2 separate regions of the Homo sapiens genome follow, and region 2 is linked to region 1. The links are contacts of gene promoters, found by promoter capture Hi-C in human tissues and cell types (Jung and others, 2019). All regions are on one chromosome and are shown on one strand. Each heading gives the region's core, a stretch centred on a gene start or on the middle of the fragment in contact. The rest is flanking DNA. Distances are from core to core; before and after follow the strand shown.

What was found. The method cuts DNA at HindIII sites, captures the fragments that hold promoters and counts their contacts. A contact is called where the count stands out against the background at its distance.
Region 2: the fragment with the promoter of SEC14L4 here is called in contact with the fragment with the promoter of TBC1D10A in region 1 in 1 of the 25 tissues and cell types used here (stomach).

Annotation. Positions count from the first base shown.
Region 1 is chr22:30,324,240-30,330,056 of GRCh38, forward strand. It overlaps TBC1D10A (TBC1 domain family member 10A), which reads right to left and starts at 2,702. Exons shown (of 9, transcript NM_031937.3): 1 at 2,434-2,702. The coding sequence starts at 2,642. RefSeq lists an enhancer at 1,109-2,058 and silencers at 2,275-2,324, 2,625-2,954. The HindIII fragment of the contact is 10,227 bases long and covers 1-4,644 here.
Region 2 is chr22:30,501,892-30,507,105 of GRCh38, forward strand. It overlaps SEC14L4 (SEC14 like lipid binding 4), which reads right to left and starts at 3,804. Exons shown (of 12, transcript NM_174977.4): 1 at 3,667-3,804; 2 at 1,786-1,861. The coding sequence starts at 3,720. RefSeq lists a silencer at 3,571-3,865. The HindIII fragment of the contact is 16,051 bases long and covers 1-5,214 here.

The sequences.
Region 1 (5,817 bases), core at 1,452-3,951:
CAACCACGAGACTGGGTTCAGGGCGGTCACCCTGAAGCTTTCCATAACTTCCCCTCTATGGCCTTGGGCAGGGACTTACTCTTGGCTTTTTTGAAACCACAATATAAATTAAGTAGGGAACATCGAAGCTTTCAGATACCAGAGATTTTAGGTTGACTGACAGGCTCCAGAAAGTGAGGGAAGGAGAGAGGACTGGAGCTGGGATCCCACCTCAGCCCCAGCCCTACAGACAGCAGCCATGTAGAGGGTGTCTGCAGAGCCACATCCCGGGTTTGTGGTTGTGGGGTAAGAAAGACAGATGTCTGGCTGCCTGGTTGGGGACTACAGCCAAAGGGAGGTGCTTCCACTGGGGCCTCACTCTGCCCACAAATACCAGAGATATGCCCTCATTTTTCTCTTCATTTCTCAGACCCTTAGAAGGAAAGAAAGAAAACTAACATTTTCTGGGCCGCTACTTGTGACAAGCGCTGTGCCAGGCACCTTCACGTATCATATACTCATTTAACCCCCAGAGTAATGTTGGGAAGTGGGTGTTACTGTCGCCCTTTACAGTGAGTAAACAGGCTCAGAGATTCAGGATCTTGCCCAAGGTCACAAAGCTAGCAAGTGTAATTCCTAAGTTTGGCCTTTTCCTAATATATCACATTGCTCTGCACCCCAAGATCTGGTTGATTGCCTGATAAGCATGTAGTAGGAACTCTCATGCCCTAGCATTCTCCCACAAATCTGAGCTCTTCCTTCCAAGGTCCCATAAATGCAACTGGGAACTCCTTTCCTAGATCTCAAGACCACACACCTCCCTGGGTCCTAATCCCAGGTGACTGCTCCTCAATTCAAAACACTCCAGGTCCCCACTAAGTTCTCACAAGTGAATCCCTGGGGAACTGTGACAAAGCATCAGTCAGGGTGAGGGTTCAGAATGAGGGGTGCTCTCTCTGAGTCCTGGACTAAACCTAGCCTGCTGTGAGCCAGTAGGGAGATACTGGAGGAGACAGATCCAGTGGGTGAGAGGGAACTCCCCTTAGGGGAGGGGCCTGGATTTCTCCAAGGAAGAAGGAGGCCTGGTGAATAAGAGGCTTTAGGGCTGGGGAAAATCCCGGAAGTGACAGGGGTTCTTAGACAGTTAAAGCGCTTCCATAAGTCATGAGAGAGTCTGGGGTGACCTTGGACAATCTCAATTGGTCAGAGAAAGGGAGAAAGGATATTCTCTGGAGTAGGGTCATGGCAGGGCCCCAGGAGCTCCTACTGGTGATTGGGATGGAAAGCACACATCAGGAGGGAGTCTTGTCAGTTCTGTGCACAACACTGGTCTCACGTGACAGGACAGCTGGGATGGGAGTGGGGTATGGAGTCCATCTTTCCTAAGGGGACCGCCAGCCTGTACACATGATCTCTGAGGCCTGGGCTCGGGGGATTCTGTGGGGCAACATGGGGCCCAGCTTGGAGGCAAGGTGCTGTTCCACTGCCCCACATTTCTCTGTCTGCTAGCTGGGTGTCTGGGTGCTCTCGGGATAGGACATCGGGGGGTGCTAATATGAGCAGGGACCCTGCTGTCTCCCTGCCTGCCCCCGTCCCACGCCCAAGATCTGCCCTTGGGAGGAGGCGCATACATACACAGGACATACACAGAGCCCATCTACTGGCTCCTGTGGCTGCTGGAGCTGATGGTCTGTCCTAGTGGTGGGGCTCCCTGTCGCCCTGTACGTGCTGGGAAGGGGGAGTACCTGCCCACCTGTTGCCAGTGCCAGTGGAGGAAGCTGTGTATGAGCGGATAGGGGGCCCTTCTCCGACCCTTCCATGAGGAGAAGGGACTGTCTGTCCCAGGATGGAGCTGAGGGGAGGGAGGTGACCAATGTCTGTCCATCCAGAGGTCTGTATGCCTCGAGGAAAGGGTCAGTCTGTCCTGGGAAGGGGTGGGGGCGGGGCAGTCAGTCCTGAAGTCGGTCTGAGGTCTCCTGGTGTGGGGGCAGTGAGGCGGGGAGACAAGGGCGTCTGTGGGTTTGTGGGAGGGGGAAAGATGGAGAATGAGTGTCTATGGAGGGGGGCGCCAGCCATCTGGGAGCCTGTCGGGGTGGCAGAAACAATCATCCCTAAGGTCTTGGCGGCAGGGGTGGGTTTGGGGCAGTCTGTCATTCTGTTCCACGGCTGGAAGGAGGGCACAGTCGGTCCTTCCTGGGAGCGGGTCAGTCTGTCCGGAGGGTGGAGGTGGCGGGTGGAGGTGTGGGCCCGTCCGCCCCCTGGGTCGGAAGTAGGACTGCGAAGGGGGCGGGTCTAGGAAGGCAGGGGTGGTGGGGGTGGGGCAGGGGAGGGAACGGGGATTAGTGGTCCCTGCCTGGGAGGGGGACGTGTCGGCAAGTCCCGAGGGCGCCTCCGTCCGTGTCGAGGCCCCTCGCGTGGGTGGCGCGCTCAGTCCCGACCCCCGGCGCTACTCACGCGCCCTCGGCGCCCTGCGAGCCCACGATGAAGCCGAACTTGTCGATGCGGCGCTCGGCGAAGCCGTTGGCCTCCGAGTCAGACCCGAGAGAGCTGAGTTCGTCGGTGGTTGCGGCGTCGGGGCCCTGGGCCAGGCTCTCCCGGGTTCCCGACAGGCTTTCCCCGGCCGCGGGCGCGCGCGGCCCATTCTCTCCGTTGCTCTTCGCCATCCCAGCCGCGCCCGCCGCCTGAGCTCCAGCGGCCACCTCAGCCGCCCTGCTGCCGCCGACGCCCCGCCCACGCGCGGCGCCTATTGGCCGCCGCAAGGCCGGGGGGCGGGGCTCCAGGCCCACCCCGGAGCTCTCCCCCCACGCCCAATGGGCGCCGCGGACCCCGGGCCCCGCCCACCCTCCCCCGGCGGGCGCCAACAAGCCCGAAGTGAGGGGGCGGGGCAGCCGTCACCGCAGCCCTCCCCGCCCTCCTCCGGGCTGCCAATCACAAGAACTCACCTGGACGAGCTCGGGCCTTTCCGGGTTGGCTCCAAGCGGGGCCTGTCACCTACTGCAGAGCGCGAGCCGGAGGCCCAGGGCTTCCTCCATGGATTCCTCATCTGCCTCCTGAGCCCCGCTCCCTGCGAGACCCCAAGGACGTGGTAGGGATTGTTTGCCCCATTCATTTATGAGGAACTCTGAGGAGGCCCAAGTGAGTTCAGGGACGCAGAGCGGCTTAAAGGCCCAGCCTGAGCCAGAAGTCTGGCAGTCCCATTGCACTCACTGCTTCTGGGGCTTTAAATTACCTCGTGAGACCTAATTATTAATAATCACCAGCGTTTACTGAGCCACGCACGCCCGAAGCTCTACCTACTTTCTCCTGTAGTCTTTTCCCCAGCAGTTTTATGGAACATAAACATACCATAAATTCACGTTTAAAGTGTACAATGATTTTTAGCATATTTACAGAGTTGTGCAGCCATCACAACATTCTAATTTTAGAACATTTTCATCACCCCAAAAAGAAACTCCTACCAATTAGCAGTCACTCCGCATCCTGGCTCCCCCAGTCCCTGGCAACCACTAATCTGCTTCCTGTTTCTATAGATGTCCCTTTTCTGGATATTTCATATAAATGGAATTATACAATATATGGCCTTTTATGTCTGGATTCTTTCTCTTGAACATTTTCAAGTTTCATCCACATTGTAGCATGTATCAGTGCTTCTGGATTCACATCTGCCCCAGGTATGTCTGACTCCACCCCTCCCTTTCCTGGGATAGGCCCACACCGCCATGAAAGACCTATACTGCCCCTCCTGGGAGCTGGGACTATACCAGATTTTGTTTTTCCATTCATCAGTGATGGTCATTCGCGTGTTTCTAGTTTTTAGCCATTATGAATAATGCTGCTCTGACCATTCAGGTACAAGCTTTTGTGTGGGGGCCTTATGTTTACATTTCTCTTGGATAGATAAGGAAGAGTGGAATTGCTGGGTCATATGGCAACTGTTTAACCTTTCGAGGAACTGGCAAACTGTTTTCCAAATTGGTTGCAACATGTCTTGTAATCTCTTAGCAATGAGGTATACACCATTATTAGTCCCATTTTACAGTTAAGGAGACTGAGGTAAAGTCAGTTGCCTAAGGTCCCAGAATTAGCTGTGAATATAGCCAGGATTCGAACTTAGCTCTTACCAACTGCCTATATTTGGAGGGATGGGCCGATTTTATCTATATGGGCTTAGCCCCAAGCAGCTGATTTCTGACCCTAGAGATTGTCAACTCTTGGATCTATAATATAATGATAGCTCCTCGCTTATGTCTAGTACTTTATGGTTTACAAGTCACAGTATATTGTCATCTGACACTCCCTGCAGACCTGTGGGAGAGACAGGCCTAGAGAGGGGAAGGGACTGGAAGACTCAGACCTGGCTGCAGGGCCTGGGACAGACTATTCAGGGCCCCAAGGCAAGCCCCAAGAGGGGGTCTTGAGCCTTGAGTGATTTCACCTTGATGCCATGTGGCCTGGACATTCTTGATGGCGTCATTGTACAATCCTCACATTCCATGAGCTTCTGGCTTTCCATAAACAAGGCAAGAACAGACATGGGAGTGGGCACAGGCTATTTTGGTCTTAAACCCTCAGTCTAGGAGGATGTTCCTTCTCTTCAGTGACTCCAGACAGTGGTGGGCTCCTGGTCCCAGCTCCCAGGAGGGGCGGTATGGGTCTTTCATGGTGGTATGGGCCTATCCCAGGAAAGGGAGGGGGAGGAGCCAGACATACCTGGGGCAGATGTGAAGCCTCAAGTACAGCAAAGAAAAGTATCCACGACCCTTTGACTTCATGATTCTATCCCTAGGGTTATATCCCAAACATGTTCTTACTCAGCTCTGTGAGGGCACAAATATAGAGACGTTCACCCCAGGGATATTTGGGGAGGGGGTAGATTAGAGACCCTGAGTGTTCATCTTTAGGAGACTGTATAGATGTTACTCCAGTGATGCTTCAGCTTCTAATTTTCTTTAATCAAACCACCAGGATTTGAATTTATGCTCTGTGACCTTGAGCAAATTACTTCTCTCTGAGCCCATTTCCTCATCTATAAATTGGAAATTCTGAAAAAATTCTTCCTTGGAAGAATTGTGCTGAGACTTTAGTGTGACAGTATGCGCTAAACACCTGGCACATGGAGAAGCCCAGTAAATAATGGCCAGGAGCTGGGCGCGGTGGCTCATGCCTGTAATCCCAGCACTTTGAGAGGCTGAGGTGGGTGGATCACTTGAGATCAGGAGTTCGAGACCAGCCTGGCCAACGTGGTGAAACCCCGTCTCTATTAAAAATTCAAAAATTAGCTGGGCGTGGTGGCAGGCGCCTGTAATCACAGCTACTCAGGAGGCTGAGGCAGGAGAATCGCTGGAACCTGGGAGGCAGAGGTTGCAGTGAGCAGAGATCACACCACTCCAGCCTGGGTGACAGACAAGACTCCATCTCAAAATAAATAAATAAATAAATAAATAAATAATGGCCAGGAGTGGTGGCATTTGAAGCTTGCAAAAGGAATTGCAAATTCATTATTGTCTTGAGTGTTCCCCATCACAGCCTGTGGCTGCAGCGGGGGAGTTTGCCCAATTTAACCTATGGCACGTGGCTTGGGAGACTTCACTTCGTGGCTGTGCCCCTCAACAACTGGGTGTCCTTGTGTGAAATTGCTAACTTTTGTATTTTTTTGTAGAGATTAGGTCTTACTATGTGGCCTAGGATGGTCTTGAACTCCTGGGCTCAAGTGATCTTCCCGCCTTGGCCTCCCAAATTGTTGGGATTACAGGCGTGAGCCTCCATGCCTGGCCAAACTCCAGAGTTCTTTATTTAATACACCTATAATGAGCCAGACATTAGTGCAGGGGTGTCCAA
Region 2 (5,214 bases), core at 2,554-5,053, 180 kb after region 1:
TTTTTAAGACAGAGTCTTGCTTTGTTGTGCAGTGGCATGATCTCCGCTCACTGCAACCTCCGCCTCCTGGGTTCAAGTGATTCTCGTGCCTCAGCCTCCTGAGTAGCTGGAACTACAGGCACGTGCCACCACACCCAGCTAATTTTTGTATTTTTGTAGAAATGGGGTTTCACTATGTTGGCCAGGCTGGTCTCGAACTCCTGGCCTCAAGTGATCTGCCCGCCTCGGCCTCCCAAAGTGCTGGGATTACAAGCGTGAACCACAGGGCCTGGCCAAAATATTGAAAAAAAACAAAAAAACAAAAACAGACAGAACAAATCAGAGGAAGAATTAGTCCCTGGTAGGGACTTCCTTTTCTCAGGTACTGTGTGCATCTGCGACCTCATTTGACTCACAGCGCCCTGAAGGTAGGGACCAGTATTATGCCCATTACACAGAAGAGGAAAGTGAGGTTGGGACAATGACTGGCTTGCCACAGGCACATGCTAGCACTGGAACTCAGTCACAGCTCTGCCCAATTCCAAAGCCAGCGTTTTAAACCCTGCACTGTATGTATGCTTTCCGGGCTGACTCCTGACTTCTCACTCATCTCAAGTTCAAAATCCATTCCATGAGGTGTAATGAGTTAAGATGAATTTTTCCCTAAGCTCTGGGGCAGTGTCTGTTATTATTATTTTGAGATGGGGTTTCACTCTGTCGCCTAGGCTGGAGTGCAGTGGTACAATCTCAGCTCACTGCATCCTCCACCTCCCAGGCTCAAGTGATCCTCTCACCTCAGCCTCCTGAGTAGCTGGGATTACAGGTGCTCGGCAGCTCACCCGGCTAATTTTTGTATTTTTTGTAGAGATGAGGTTTCGCCATGTTGCCCAGGCTGGTCTTGAACTCCTGAGCTCAAGAAATCTGCCTGCCTCAGCCTCCCAAAGCACTGGGACTATAAGTGTGAGCCATCGCATCTGGCTTGTTATTATTTTTTTAGACTGCTGCTGTAATTCCTAGAAGAAACTGCTTCTCTAGCATTCGCTAAATCCACTTCCTTAAGTGTTTGCTGGGCACCTGCTCAGTGCACTAGGGCACCTCGGTTCCTTTAGGGGACAACAGAGCCCTGTCCTCGGGGAACTGGAGGTACACCCAAAGGCAAGTACTGAAAACAGTGCTCTGCAACATCTGCCCCAAGGGCTGGCCAGGCCAGAGGCCTGAGGATGTCCTGGCTGTTAACTGTAACCTCACCTGGACTCTGTGCCCACCTGTTGCCTCATCCTTGCTTGACAGATGAAGAAACTGAGGCTCAGTGGGGTTTTGTGCTGTGCTCATACACAGGGGAGCTCAGATTCTAGTCAGAGCAGGCTGATTCCAGACCCTGTGTTTTTTGTTTTTTTGTTTTTTTTTTTTTGAGACGGAGCTTCACTCTTGATGCCCAGGCTGGAGTGCAATGGCGGGATCTCGGCTTACCGCAACCTCTGCCTCCCGGGTTCAAGCGATTCTCCTGCCTCAGCCTCCTGAGTAGCTGAGATTACAGGCATGTGCCACCAAGCCAGCTAATTTTGTATTTTTAGTAGAGACAGGGTTTCCCCATGTTGGTCAGGCTGGTCTCGAACTCCCGACCTCAGGTGATCTGCCTGCCTCGGCCTCCCAAAGTGCTGGGATTACAGGTGTGAGCCACCGGGCCCGGCAAGCCTGTGTTCTTTACTACCCTACAGCTCCATTCCCTCAAAGTCTCCCACTCCTCTCCTGAGACCCTCCTTCCTTCCCTCCCTTTCTGCGTCCCCTGACCCCTGCAAGCCTCACCTCGCAGCCAGCGCAGGAGGAAGTAGTCATCAGCATTGGGCAGTATGGGCAGCAGGTCCTGGAGGTTCTCCCGGAACTGAGCGGAGGAGGATCTGATGGTCGGCGGAGCTCTCATGACCTCGGGGGCCACCAACCCCGCCCCTAACCCTTCCCACATCATCCACCAGTCAACTCCACCAGAAGACCATGCAGGGTGCTGCCCTGAACGACTTTGCCATCTGAAAATAGGGCACCCTCCAGCCCAACATAGGAAAAAGAGTTGGGTCCTTCCCAAAATTTGGGAGTGCCCTACACACTGGACTCCCATTCTACATGTCTAAGGTGGGGCCCTGGCATCCTTATTTTTAATTTTTATTTTATTATTATTTTTATATTATTATTATTATTATTATTATTATTGAAACAGGATCTCACTCTATCGCCCAAGCTGGAGCGTAGTTGCGTGATCTTGGCTCACTGCAACCCGTGCCTCCCGGGTTCAATAGATCCTCCCAGCTCAGACTCCCAAGTAGCTGGGACCACAGGCACACAAGATGCCCAGCTAATTTTTGTACTTTTTGTAGAGATGGGATCTTGCTATGTTGCCCAGGCTGGTCTCAAACTCCTTGGCTCAAACAATCCACCCGCCTTAGTATCCCAAAGTGCTGGGATCACAGGCGTGAGCCACCATGCCCGACTGACAGCCTTATTTCTACAAGGATCCCTGGGAGAGTCTGATGCAGGCCAGCTAGGCGGTTTTAGGAATGTTGTCCCTGATACTGCATCTTGAGGGTTTAGATTTAGAGGCAAGTTACCAAACCTCTCTAAGCCTCAGTTTCCTTATCTCTGAAATGGGGATAAAAATAAACTTGTACCAATCAAAGGAGTCTGTGCACGTAAAACACTTAGCAGGCTTGGCTCCGAGCAGGTGTCAGATATATGTGAGCACTCAGCCAGCGTGGACTGCCTGATGCCCCGGACAATGGAGGCTTTGTGGAAAAAAAACAGAGGCAGAGGTCAACAGACAGGGGCTGAAAGAGAAGCCAGGAATGCCTTATCAGGGCATCTGTTGCGTCTGAGAGAGAGGAGATCTCACTTCCCTGGGGACCAACAGAGCTGAAGGCAAAGGCTGGGTTTGAAGGTGAATCTGTGAATCCAAATTTGGGATTAGAAATATGAGGCCGGGCGCAGTGGCTCACACCTGTAATCCCAGCACTTTGGGAGGCCAAGGCGGATGGATCACAAGGTCAGGAGTTCGAGACCAGCCTGTCCAAGAGACCTGCCTGGCCAATATGGTGAAACCCCGTCTCTACTAAAAATACAAAAATTAGTCGGGTGTGGTGGCGGGCACCTGTAGCCCCAGCTACTTGGGAGGCTGAGGCAGGAGAATCGCTTGAACTCAGGAGGTGGAGGTTGCAGTGAACCGAGATTGCGCCATTACACTCCAGCCTGGACGACAGAGCAAGACTCCATCTCAAAAAAAAAAAAAAAAAAGATTACAGAGAAGCTTGGGCCCTAAGAACAAATCACAAAGAGAAGCCAAACAAACAAATGTTGCAACCTGGACATGAAAAGCAGTCTGTCTACCCAAGGCTGCCCCCGCAGCCGGATGGCAGCGCCACTCCCTCCCCCACAACCGGGGAACAAGGACCAGGGCCGGGTGGTGGAGAGCACGCAAGGTCAGAAGACTGGATTCGGCTCCTGGTCACGCAGAGATGGGCCCCTGTCCCGCGTGCTGCACGTAGCCGCCTCAACAACCGCACGCTGGACCAGAGGGCAGAACAGAGGCGCTCTCTCCAGGCTCGGTGTTCCAGTCTGTACCATGGGGGCTCCAGCCGGGTTGGGCAGTGCCAGGCTGCTCAGGGCCCCTCCTCAAGCCTCCCAGCCCGCGATGCTCCTCACCCTGGCCAGCGCTTCCTGCTGCTGGGGGCTCAGGTCCCCGACTCGGCTGCTCATGGTGCCCGCGGGCGCAGAAAGGCTCAGGGCGCAGGTCCGCCCGCCCGCCGCCGCCTGGCCTTGTATCCGCTGCCGCCTGGTTGTGCCTCCTGGGCCAGATGTTGGTCCCGCCCCGACGGGAGAGGCACTGGGCCTGCCCCGCCCCGCCCAGTTCTCTCCTCCTCTCCAGGATTTTTTGCTGCGGTCACCAAGCGCACCCTACTTGGGACAGGGAGGTGACCTGCCGGGAGAGTGGCCTGGGGCAGCTGGAGGCAGCCACCTCCAGGCCTCCTTACTGCGGGGGCTCCCGCCTGTTCGCAGGTGGCAGGAAAGGGAATACACTGAGATCCTCTTTCCAGCAAAATGGAGGAAATTTTTTTTTAAATGTTTTTTTTTTTTTGGGCCAGGCGCGGTGGCTCACGCCTGTAATCCCAGCACTTTGGGAGGCCGAGGCGGGCGGATCACGAGGTCAGGAGGAGATCGAGACCATCCTGGCTAACATGGTGAAAACCCGTCTCTACTGAAAATACAAAAAATTAGCTGGGCGTGGTGGCGGGCGCCTGTAGTCCCAGCTACTCGGGAGGCTGAGGCAGGAGAATGGCGTGAACCCGGGAAGCGGAGCTTGCAGTGAGCCGAGATCGCGCCACTGCACTCCAGCCTGGGTGACAGAGTGAGACTCCGTCTCAAAAAAAAAAAAAATTTTTTTTTTCTTTTTCTTATTTTGAATAAAATAGAGACCGGGTTTTGCTATGCTGACCAGGCTGGTCTGGACCTCCTGGCCTCAAGCAATCCTCCAACCTCCGCCACCCAAAGTGCTGGGATTAGGGATGTGAACCACCATACCTGGCCAACATGGAGGAATTTTTAATAAACCTGGCTCAACCCTCTAGGACCCCCAGGGCTTTTGTCTAATGACCCCCAAGCTCCTTCCCCTGACCTTGAACACAGCCTGGGACCTGTCAGTGCTCACTGACTGATAGGACAGCCTCATGTGCAAAATGGTTCCTGCCCTCAAGATGGTTGGAAGGATAAGAGGACGCACCCTGGGTCAGCAGAATGTCTGGCGTTGCCTGCTCAGTAAGTGCTGGCTGGTAGGAATATATTTCAGAATTGTGTTATTACTGAGGCTGTCACCAGAGCTGGGAGCTGCAGGGGTGGAGATCCTAGGGTGTCCCAAGTGCGGAGCTCCTGGGTGAGAGCCACAGTCTGAAGGTGGAGGCATGCAAGGTGCCAGCCGTGGACCAATGGAAGCCCTGGGCAGAGTGACAGAGTGGGCGGAGAGCCAAAAGGCCACTCTGGCTGACACAAGAGAGCCAGGCGGAGATCACTAGGAAAAGCAAGAAAAAAGTTCAGCCAGGCGCGGTGGCTCATGCTTGCAATCCTGGCACCTGGCACTTTGGGAGGCCAAGGCAGGCGGATCACTTGAGGTCAGGAGTTTGAGACCATCCTGGCCAACATGGTGAAACCCTGTCTCTACTAAAAATACAAAAATTAGCTGGGTGTGGTCGTCCACGC